Regions from separate parts of the Homo sapiens genome. Here region 1 is linked to region 2. The links are contacts of gene promoters, found by promoter capture Hi-C in blood cells and fetal thymus (Javierre and others, 2016). All regions are on one chromosome and are shown on one strand. The core of a region is centred on a gene start or on the middle of the fragment in contact, and the rest is flanking DNA. Distances in the headings are between cores, read along the strand shown. Region 1 has its middle 3.9 kb from the start of QSER1. Region 2 holds the start of C11orf91 (chromosome 11 open reading frame 91).

Evidence for each region. Contacts are between HindIII fragments. The CHiCAGO score rates a contact against its expected background, and 5 or more counts as called.
Region 1: a fragment that was not itself captured here is called in contact with the fragment with the promoter of C11orf91 in region 2 in 1 of 17 cell types (total B cells); the score reaches 5.0 in total B cells.

What each region holds. Positions count from the first base shown.
Region 1 is chr11:32,886,813-32,890,958 of GRCh38, forward strand. No RefSeq gene overlaps it. Among named protein-coding and RNA genes, the nearest start is that of QSER1, 3.9 kb to the right of the region's middle. The HindIII fragment of the contact is 5,575 bases long and covers 1-4,146 here.
Region 2 is chr11:33,698,922-33,703,249 of GRCh38, forward strand. It overlaps C11orf91 (chromosome 11 open reading frame 91), which reads right to left and starts at 1,905. Exons shown (of 2, transcript NM_001166692.2): 1 at 1,324-1,905. The coding sequence starts at 1,819. It overlaps CD59 (CD59 molecule (CD59 blood group)), which reads right to left. Exons shown (of 4, transcript NM_000611.6): 4 at 4,089-4,328. RefSeq lists silencers at 1,571-1,660, 1,841-2,080. The HindIII fragment of the contact is 1,250 bases long and covers 942-2,191 here.

The DNA.
Region 1 (4,146 bases), core at 1,445-3,944, 810 kb before region 2:
GCACAGGACCTAAGACATACATTGTCAATATGTATCAGTTATTCTTATGAGAATCACTCTCACCTACAGGTTTAAATCTCCTGTAATCTATTTAGGGAGATAAAATGTCCTCTCAGTGAAAGACTTCATGACAAGGCCACAGCCTTGTCTTTCCAGTTCATACTTAAATTGTACTCCTTTCCCAGACCTCCTGGTTTCTAATCATTCAACCTTGCTTACTGCAGGCCCTTGATCAACGAAACCATTCATCAGTGCCCCAAAGTCCCTCCATATCCGTAGCTCAGAAAACTACCTCTCCGCACAAAATTGATGATCAAGTATGTTTCTTGAAGCTCTTTCAGGGACACCCCCTAGTGAGGCTGCAGCTTCCAGAGAAGCAGGGTTAAACAGCAGCTTTCCTGATTCCATTGCTGTCTCCCTGGAGGGGTATGGCAGACAACAATGAGCAGAGTCAAAAGATGATTGATAGGGTCAAGCCTCAGAGACAGAGAAAATTATAGTGGGACTTAGTTTCCTTCTAACTTTTTTTATTTTAATTTTTCTTTAGAAACAGAGTCTTGCTCTGTTGCCCAGCCTGGAGCATAGTGACATGATCATTCCTTACTGTAACCTCGAAATTCTGGGTTCAAGTGATCCTCCAGCCTTAGCCTTTGGAGTAGCTAGGACTGTGTCCGGAATTGGCGGGTTCTTGGTCTCACTGACTTCAAGAACGAAGCCACAGACCCTCGCAGTGAGTGTTACAGTTCTTAAACGGAGGGTGTCCGGAGTTTCTTCCTTCTGGTGGGTTCGTGGTCTGGATGGCTTCAGGAGTGAAGCTGCAGACCTTTGCGGTGAATGTTACAACTCTTAAGGCGGCGCGTCTGGAGTTCTTCGTTCCTCCCCGTAGGTTCGTGGTCTCCCTGGCTTCAGGAGTGAAGCTAGACCTTCACGGAGAGTGTTACAGCTGATAAAGGCAGTGTGGACCCAAAAAGTGACCAGCAGCAAGATTTGTTGCAAGGAACGAAAGAACACAGCTTCCACACCGTGGAAACGGATGCCAGCAGGTTGCCACTGTTGGCTCGGGCAGCCTGCTTTTATTCTCTTATCTGGCCCCACCCATATCCTGCTGATTGGTCCATTTTACAGAGAGCCGATTGGTCCACTTTACAGAGAGCTGATTGGTCCGTTTTGACAGGGTGCTGATTGGTGCATTTACAATCCCTGAGCTAGACACAAAAGTTCTCCACGTCCCCACTAGATGAGCTAGATACAGAGTGCCCATTGGTGTATTTACAATCCCTAAGCTAGACGTAAAGGTTCTCCAAGTCCCCACCAGACTCAGGAGCCCAGCTGGTTTCACCCAGTGGATCCCGCACCAGGCAGCAGGTGGAGCTGGCTGCCACTCCCACGCAGTGCTCCACACTCCTCAGCCCTTGGGCCTCCGATGGGACTGGGTGCCATGGAGCAGCGGGGCGGCGCTCATCGGGGAGGCTCCGCCCCACAGGAGCCCACAGCAGGGGGTAAGACTCAGGCATAGCAGGCTGCAGGTCCCGAGCCCTGCCCCCCGGGGGAGGCAGCTAAGGCCCGGCAAGAAATCGAGCACAGCAGCTGCTGGCCCAGGTGCTAAGCCCCTCACTGCCCAGGGCTGGCGGGGCTGGCTGGCAGCTCCGAGTGGGGGGCCCGCCGAGCCCACGCCTACCCAGAACAGGCACTGGCCCGCAAGCGCCCCGGACAGTCCCGGTTCCTGCCCCCGCCTCTCCCTCCACACCTCCCCTCAAGCTGAGGGAGCCGGCTCTGGCCTTGGCCAGCCCGGAAAGGGGCTCCCACAGTGCAGCAGTGGGCTGAAGGGCTCCTCAAGTGTGGCCAGAGTGGGCGCCAAGGCCTAGGAGGCGCCGAGAGCAAGCGAGGGCTGCCAGCACGCTGTCACCTCTCAGGACTACAGGTGCACCACCATGCCTGGCTAATTTTTATTTCCTTTCTGATGTTTTAATTTAATTTATGATGTTGACCTAAGAGATGGAAACCAGGGCTGCTCTGGCAAAGACAGGGCTTATAGTTTCCCTCAATGCCAGAAGAGAAGGGAAAAATTTAAAACCATATCTTCTTTCCCTGTTCAAATCACTTCTCACACACATATTCCTTGTATTCTCAGTGAAACCACAAACTTGACCTTCTTGGATCTTTCTTCTTGATGGTTGGTCTATTTATAACATAGGAATGTGTGGACTTACTGACTACATTTCTAGTTAGGCAACCCCAAATTCTGCATTTCCCAACAAGCTAATGAACAAGGCCACCTCAGTGAAGATGGGGTTTCCTGGGTCTCACCCCAACTGATTCCCTCCATCATCTTAAAGCAAGTCACTCAATACCAGGCCTCAGCTTCCTCAACTACAAAAGGAAGGCAATGAACTATGTACTCAATAGAACTACAATCTTTCTACCAGTTGAAATACTTATTTTCTTTTTTTTTTTTTTTTGAGAGGCAAAATCAATTACTTCCTTTTCAATTGTCCTCTGGTGCTTTATTCCAATTTCTATTATATTTAACACTATCCTATTGCATTACAATTAGTTGTGTGTCTGCCTCTTTTCCTCATAAATTACAGGTTCCATAAAGACAGGCGTTGTATTAAATTTACCCTCGTATTCACAGCATTTAGTATTATGCTTGGCACTGTATTAGGCTCTAAATACATATCTATTGAATGAATAAATATGTAAGCTACTTTAAAAATGCCCATTCAGGCTGGATGCGGTGGCTCATGCCTGTAATCCCAGCACTTTGGGAGGCTGAGGTGGGCATATCACGAGGTCAGGAGATCGAGACCATCCTGGCTAACACGACGAAACCTCGTCTCTACTAAAAATACAAAAAATTAGCTGGGCGTGGTGGCGGGCACCTGTAGTCCCAGCTACTCGGGAGGCTTAGGCAGGAGAATGGCGTAAAACCCAGGAGGCAGAGCTTGCAGTGAGCCGAAATCGCGCCACTGCACTCCAGCCTGGGCGACAGAGCAAGACGCTATCTAAGAAAAAAAAATGCCCATTCAGAAGTTCCAATTAGTCATTTACATATTCCTTTCCTTTCCCCCCCAAAAAAGAAAAACCAAAACACTCTATCTCAATTCTAAAATCGGGGCAAGATTTGAAAATTGATTAAATCAAAGGCAGTTTGGTTTTAAGATGAATTGGAGTAAATCCTACACTTAAGAAGGAATCTTCCAGCACTTTGGAAGGCTGAGGTGGGAGGATTGCTTGAGGCCAGGAGCTCAAGACCAGCCTTGGACACCATAGCGAGACCCTGTCTGAAAAAAAACAAAAAAAACTCTTTCCTTCTTCCTCACCTCCATCTCCCACTTCCTTCTGAGTTTATTGTCTAGAGTTAGTCATGCCTTAGAACATGCCCATGAACAATCTCCCCACATTTTCCACCCTAACTCCCATCCCATTAGAAAATCAATACGTATTTCACAGGTCGCGGTGGCTCACGCCTGTAATCCCAGAACTTTGGGAGGCTGAGGCAGGCGGATCATCTGAGGTCAAGAGTTCGAGACTAGCCTGGCCAAAATGGTGAAACCCGTCTCTACTAAAAATACAAAAAAATTAGCTGGGCGTGGTGGCATGCGCCTGTATTCCCAGCTACTCAGGAGGCTGAGGCAGGAGAATCGCTTGAATCCGGGAGGCGGAGGTTGCAGTGAGACGAGATCACCCCACTGCACTCAAGCCTGGGCGACAGAGCGAGACTGTCTGAAAAAACGAACAAACAAAAACACGGGACCAACAATGCTCATTCTAGAGTTTGACATTACCTAGATCAGACTTGAAGCAGCTTGGTTACGAATCATTTGAGAGATCCCGAAACGTTCACAGAGCTGGAAGTATATTTTCAGTAGGGAAGAAGACATTCTTCAGATAGTATCATCAAGTGTACAAAATTTTTAAAAGATTTATTTACATATATCAAAGCATCACATTGTACCCCATAAATGTATGCAATTATGATTTGTCAATTAAAAATAGTATTGATAAAAAATGTAATGATGTTATTTGTAGACATGTAACATTTGAAAATAAATATAATTGTACTGATTTAGAGTGAACTAAGGAAATTTCATTTAAATGGCAAAGGAACATATGGTGACAGAGTAATATTACTAAAAATACTCA
Region 2 (4,328 bases), core at 655-3,154:
AAATGTGTGCCACCAAGCCCGGCTCATTTTTGTATTTTAGTAGAGACAGGGTTTTACCATGTTGGTCAGGCTGGTCCTCAATGATCCTCTTGTTGGTCAGGCTCCTGACCTCAAATGATCCACCCGCATTGGCCCCCCCAAAGTGCTGAGATTACAAGTGCCAGCCACCACACCCGGCCCCTGGATTTCTTAACTATGTATTCGGTTAAGATTTCTTAACTATGAATACATAGTATTATGTATGTATTCATAGTTAAGAAATCCAGGACTTAGCAAAGCCCAGTTTTTCTAGGGACTGTCTTCCTTCCATGGCTATGAGAAAGGGTGCATTACAGTGTGTCTGATGAACTGAAGACCATTTCCATGGCCACACGGACCTAAGCATTTAGGTTATTTCATACTTCCCTTCTCTGTGTGGCAGGGGAAGCCAACTTAAGCCGTTATATACGATAGTTGGAATGATCTTTTTAGAACTATCTGCCCTTCTCCAGTGGTCAAGGACAAGCCTTAGCCAAAACAAGTGATGGGAAAGACAAAGTCTGCAGGACAACCTACCGCTACTGAAAGTTCTACTTTGCAATAGGTCCTTCTTGGAGTACAAGGCATTTAACAACTTTACCCTCCAACAGGGAGGAGTCATTCAGCTCGTAGGCTGAGGGATCCTGCCCGCATCAGCACACGTGGTCCAGAGCCCTAAGACTTCAGACGTAAGACCAGATATCAGCCCAGGATCCTGGTGAGAGAACTACCGGCGCCAAGGCCACAGAGTCCCAGGGGGGCTGCCCCCCAGCATTGAGAAGTGGAGTGTCCCAAAGCTGCCCTGGAAACGGCCTTGGGCCTTGTGGTTCTTGCACAACTCCCACCTCCCCCTACAGACAACTGACAGTCACCTTACTTCACCTTCCCCCCATGGAGAGCCCCGGTTTAGGACCGAACATTAAAGCTTAGGGACTGTCTGTGGTGGGTGGAGCTCCAGAGTACAGGGTAGGAGGATGACTGTGCAGGAGGATTAAAGTTCAGGACGGGGTGGTGGCGGATGGAGTTCCAGGTGTGGAGGCTCAGAGTCCAGATGACCCAAAGGGTTTAGGACGGAGGGAGGATGGAGTTTGGGACTAAGAGGCTCATGAAGTTCAGATCTGTGGTGGGGGGAGGAGTCGGTTAAGTCCAGGATAAGGGAGTCTGGGTGCTAGGGGATAGATTTTGGATCTGGGACTACTGGGGGCTGGAGTCAAACCAGGCTACATTTCGGGTCGGGGCACGGAGCCAAGGAGGGAGCTAGGGCAGGCTAAGGCTGGGCTCGGTGGCCCTGGCGAGGTCACGCACAGCTCTGGGAGTCGAAGCCGTCCCCAGTGATGGTGAGCAACTCCAGCTCCTTAATCCGGATCTCCAGCTCGCAGAGCTCCTCCGGGTGGGAGGCAGAGGCGAGCCTGGGGGTCGAGGGGCAGGGGACCAGGGGCGAGGCAACCACCTCAGGCCCCGGCGGCGGTGAGTAGAAGAAGCGCAGAGGCTCGTAGGGGATGGAGGCCAGGCCGGAGGGCCAGGGCGAGGGCCAGGGGCGCTCGCTGGAGGGACCCAGGCCGGGTGGTGGCGGGGGCGGGGGCGCCGGGGCGGGGAGCGCCTGGGACAGGGACCGGGCCCCCGCCGCCCCGCCCACTGGCGCCCCGCCCGCCTTCAGCGGCACGAAGAGCTTCTTCCAGATGTTGAAGTCGCTGAGCGGGGACGAGGAGATGCCGCGGTCGTACAGGGACGGGAAATAGAGGGGCGGAGCCGACCGCTGGCTCATGGTGGGGCTGTGGCTGCCGCGCCGCCCCTTTGGCATCGTTTGAATGAGGGTCTGCGTGGGAGGAACCCCGCGCCGGGAGACGCGCGCTCAGGCCCCGAGTCGCCGGGGTTTCGAGGTTCCACAAGCCCCGCCCCGATGGAGCGCGGCCCCACCCTTTCGCCTCAGCCCGGCCCCTAACAGGCGGGGTTCCAAAGCCCGGACGACCACGTCCCGGAACGCGGCCCCGCCCACCTCGGCTGGCCGCACCCCGCAGTTAGAAAGCCACGCCCCCTGGCTCGCCTCGCCTCGCCTCCCGTCCCTCGACTCCGCCCACCGCCTCGCTCTTGCTCTGCGACCCCGCTGGCTTCCGTTGTCATATCCCAGCATACCCTCATCCAGAACAGGCAGCGGGCCAGGGCTGCAGAAGAAAGCTTACTTCAGGCTTCCTCTCTTTCTCCCATGAGGGAGAAAAGTATTTCCTAGAAACCTGGCCCCTGCACCAGCAGACTTACCTCATTGCCTCACTGGCCGCGCCCACAGCAAAGAAGTCTGAGAAAATCAGTGTCTGATTTTTCATCCACTACTGTGGGAGGCAGACAAAGGAGAAGAGGATTGATTGGGAATGGCTGTTAGAGCCAACCTATGTATCTGCCAAACGTTAGCAGTGTTGAGGAAGATTCTAGAAAAGGGGATCCTCATCTGGTTTGTAATAGACCTGAAGGAGTGTTTTCAGTGAAATGCAGTTTAGTTCTCTTCCAAACACAGATATCACCAGGAGCTAACAGGCAACGAGCTAACCACCAAAAGGAAATCCTGTCCGCCCTACCTCAAATACTTCACCCATTGCTTATGAGCGATTTGGACATTTTGTCCAAAGGACATGACAGCTCATTTATGTGAGTAACCTGTATTAGCCATAGACTGAGGGGAAATAACTAATACATTTTCTTGAGAGCCTCTGCCTAATGATCACTGGTATGACTAGTGATGGGTGGAGGGCAGTTAAAGAGTCAGTATCAGCTTCACAAGTTAAATATATATATGCATATGTATCTGCACACACAGTGCAAAGTGTGTGTGTGTGTGTGTGTGTGTGTGTAGCAGCAAAGTGGAGAGAGTCAGATATTCAAGCTGGGTAGCCTTGGACAAGTTGCTTGACTTTTAAGTAGGTTTTCCATAAAATAGAAATAAGAAAACCAGGCTGCCTCATAGGGTTGTGATCAAACAGAAGACGGAACAGTGTGTGTGTGAAACACTTGAACTTGGACACTTTGTCCAAACACAAGAGGCAGCTGTCCCTACTAAGGGGCATGTCTGAAACTGGGAAGCTTTTTCTTCCCACACTGAGCTTCCCACACTTAGTTGTCACACGCAGTATTTGCTCTCTGACTTTGGCAGCCACCCATCATTGTTTATTCATACAAGTGATCACTAGGCTGAGGCTCTCAAGAAAATGTATTTCCCCTCAGTCTATGGCTAATACAGGCCATGTGCGATAGCTCAGCACCCAGCCTGTAATCCCAGCACTCTGGGAGTCTGAGGTGGGATCTCTTGAGGCCAAGAGTTTGAGAACAGCCAGGGGCAACATAGCGAGATTCTGTCTCTATAAAATAATTTAAAAAATTAACCAGGTGTGGTGGCATTTGCCTGGAGCCACTCAGGAGCTGAAGTGGGAGGATTTCTTGAACCAAGGAGGCTGAGGTTGAGGCTGCAGTGAGCCACAATCATAGCACTGCACTCCAGCCTGGGTGACAAGGCAGGACCCTGTCTCAAAATAAATAAAATAAAATAAAATAAAAAATACCCTTATCTTCCATTAGTTTCCCCCACATATTTAACTTCCCATAATTTACTGCCCAAGAAGCTCAAACCTCTTTTCCTTTGTCTTATCACTTTTCTACAATCGCCCATTGTTAAAATTGTATATAAGCTCTCAAGCCACTTCTTTGGGTTTTCACTTTGTTTCTGTAAGAACCCCATGTACCTGCGTAATAAACTTTGTCTTCTGTTAATCTGTCTTTGTCAGTTTAATTCTCAGGCCCCAGGCTCTGAACCTAAGAGATTAGAAGAAAAATTTTTTCACCCCTACAGAACCACAGTAATGGTAAGAACCAGGGTTTTGGACTCAAGACTTGGGACCAAACCCTGGATCCACTATGTATTTGGCTGTGCGGCTGAACCTTTCTCAACCTCATTTTTTCATCAATATAATGGGAATAGTAATGGCATCTACTTGCTTAGGTTGGCAAGACTAAGTGAGACAGTTTAAGTACCTGGCAATGGCTTGTGTTCAACATTAGCTCTTGTTATTACATATTAAAGGCCCTTAGAAGGAAAAGAGATTTTGCGTTATATTTTTTAAATGAAGCAATACAATCATTTTTTATGTATATATCTAGTTGAGGAGAAAAAATTACAGATTTTTTCCCCCTTACTCCAAGATAATCTAAACAGATTTTACTCTGGATGGCTTAATTATAACATAATCCATGAAGTTATAGCCAGGGGGTTAAATAAGAAGTTGATGACAAACTTGGTTTCTCTAACAAGTATGCAAGAAAACTCA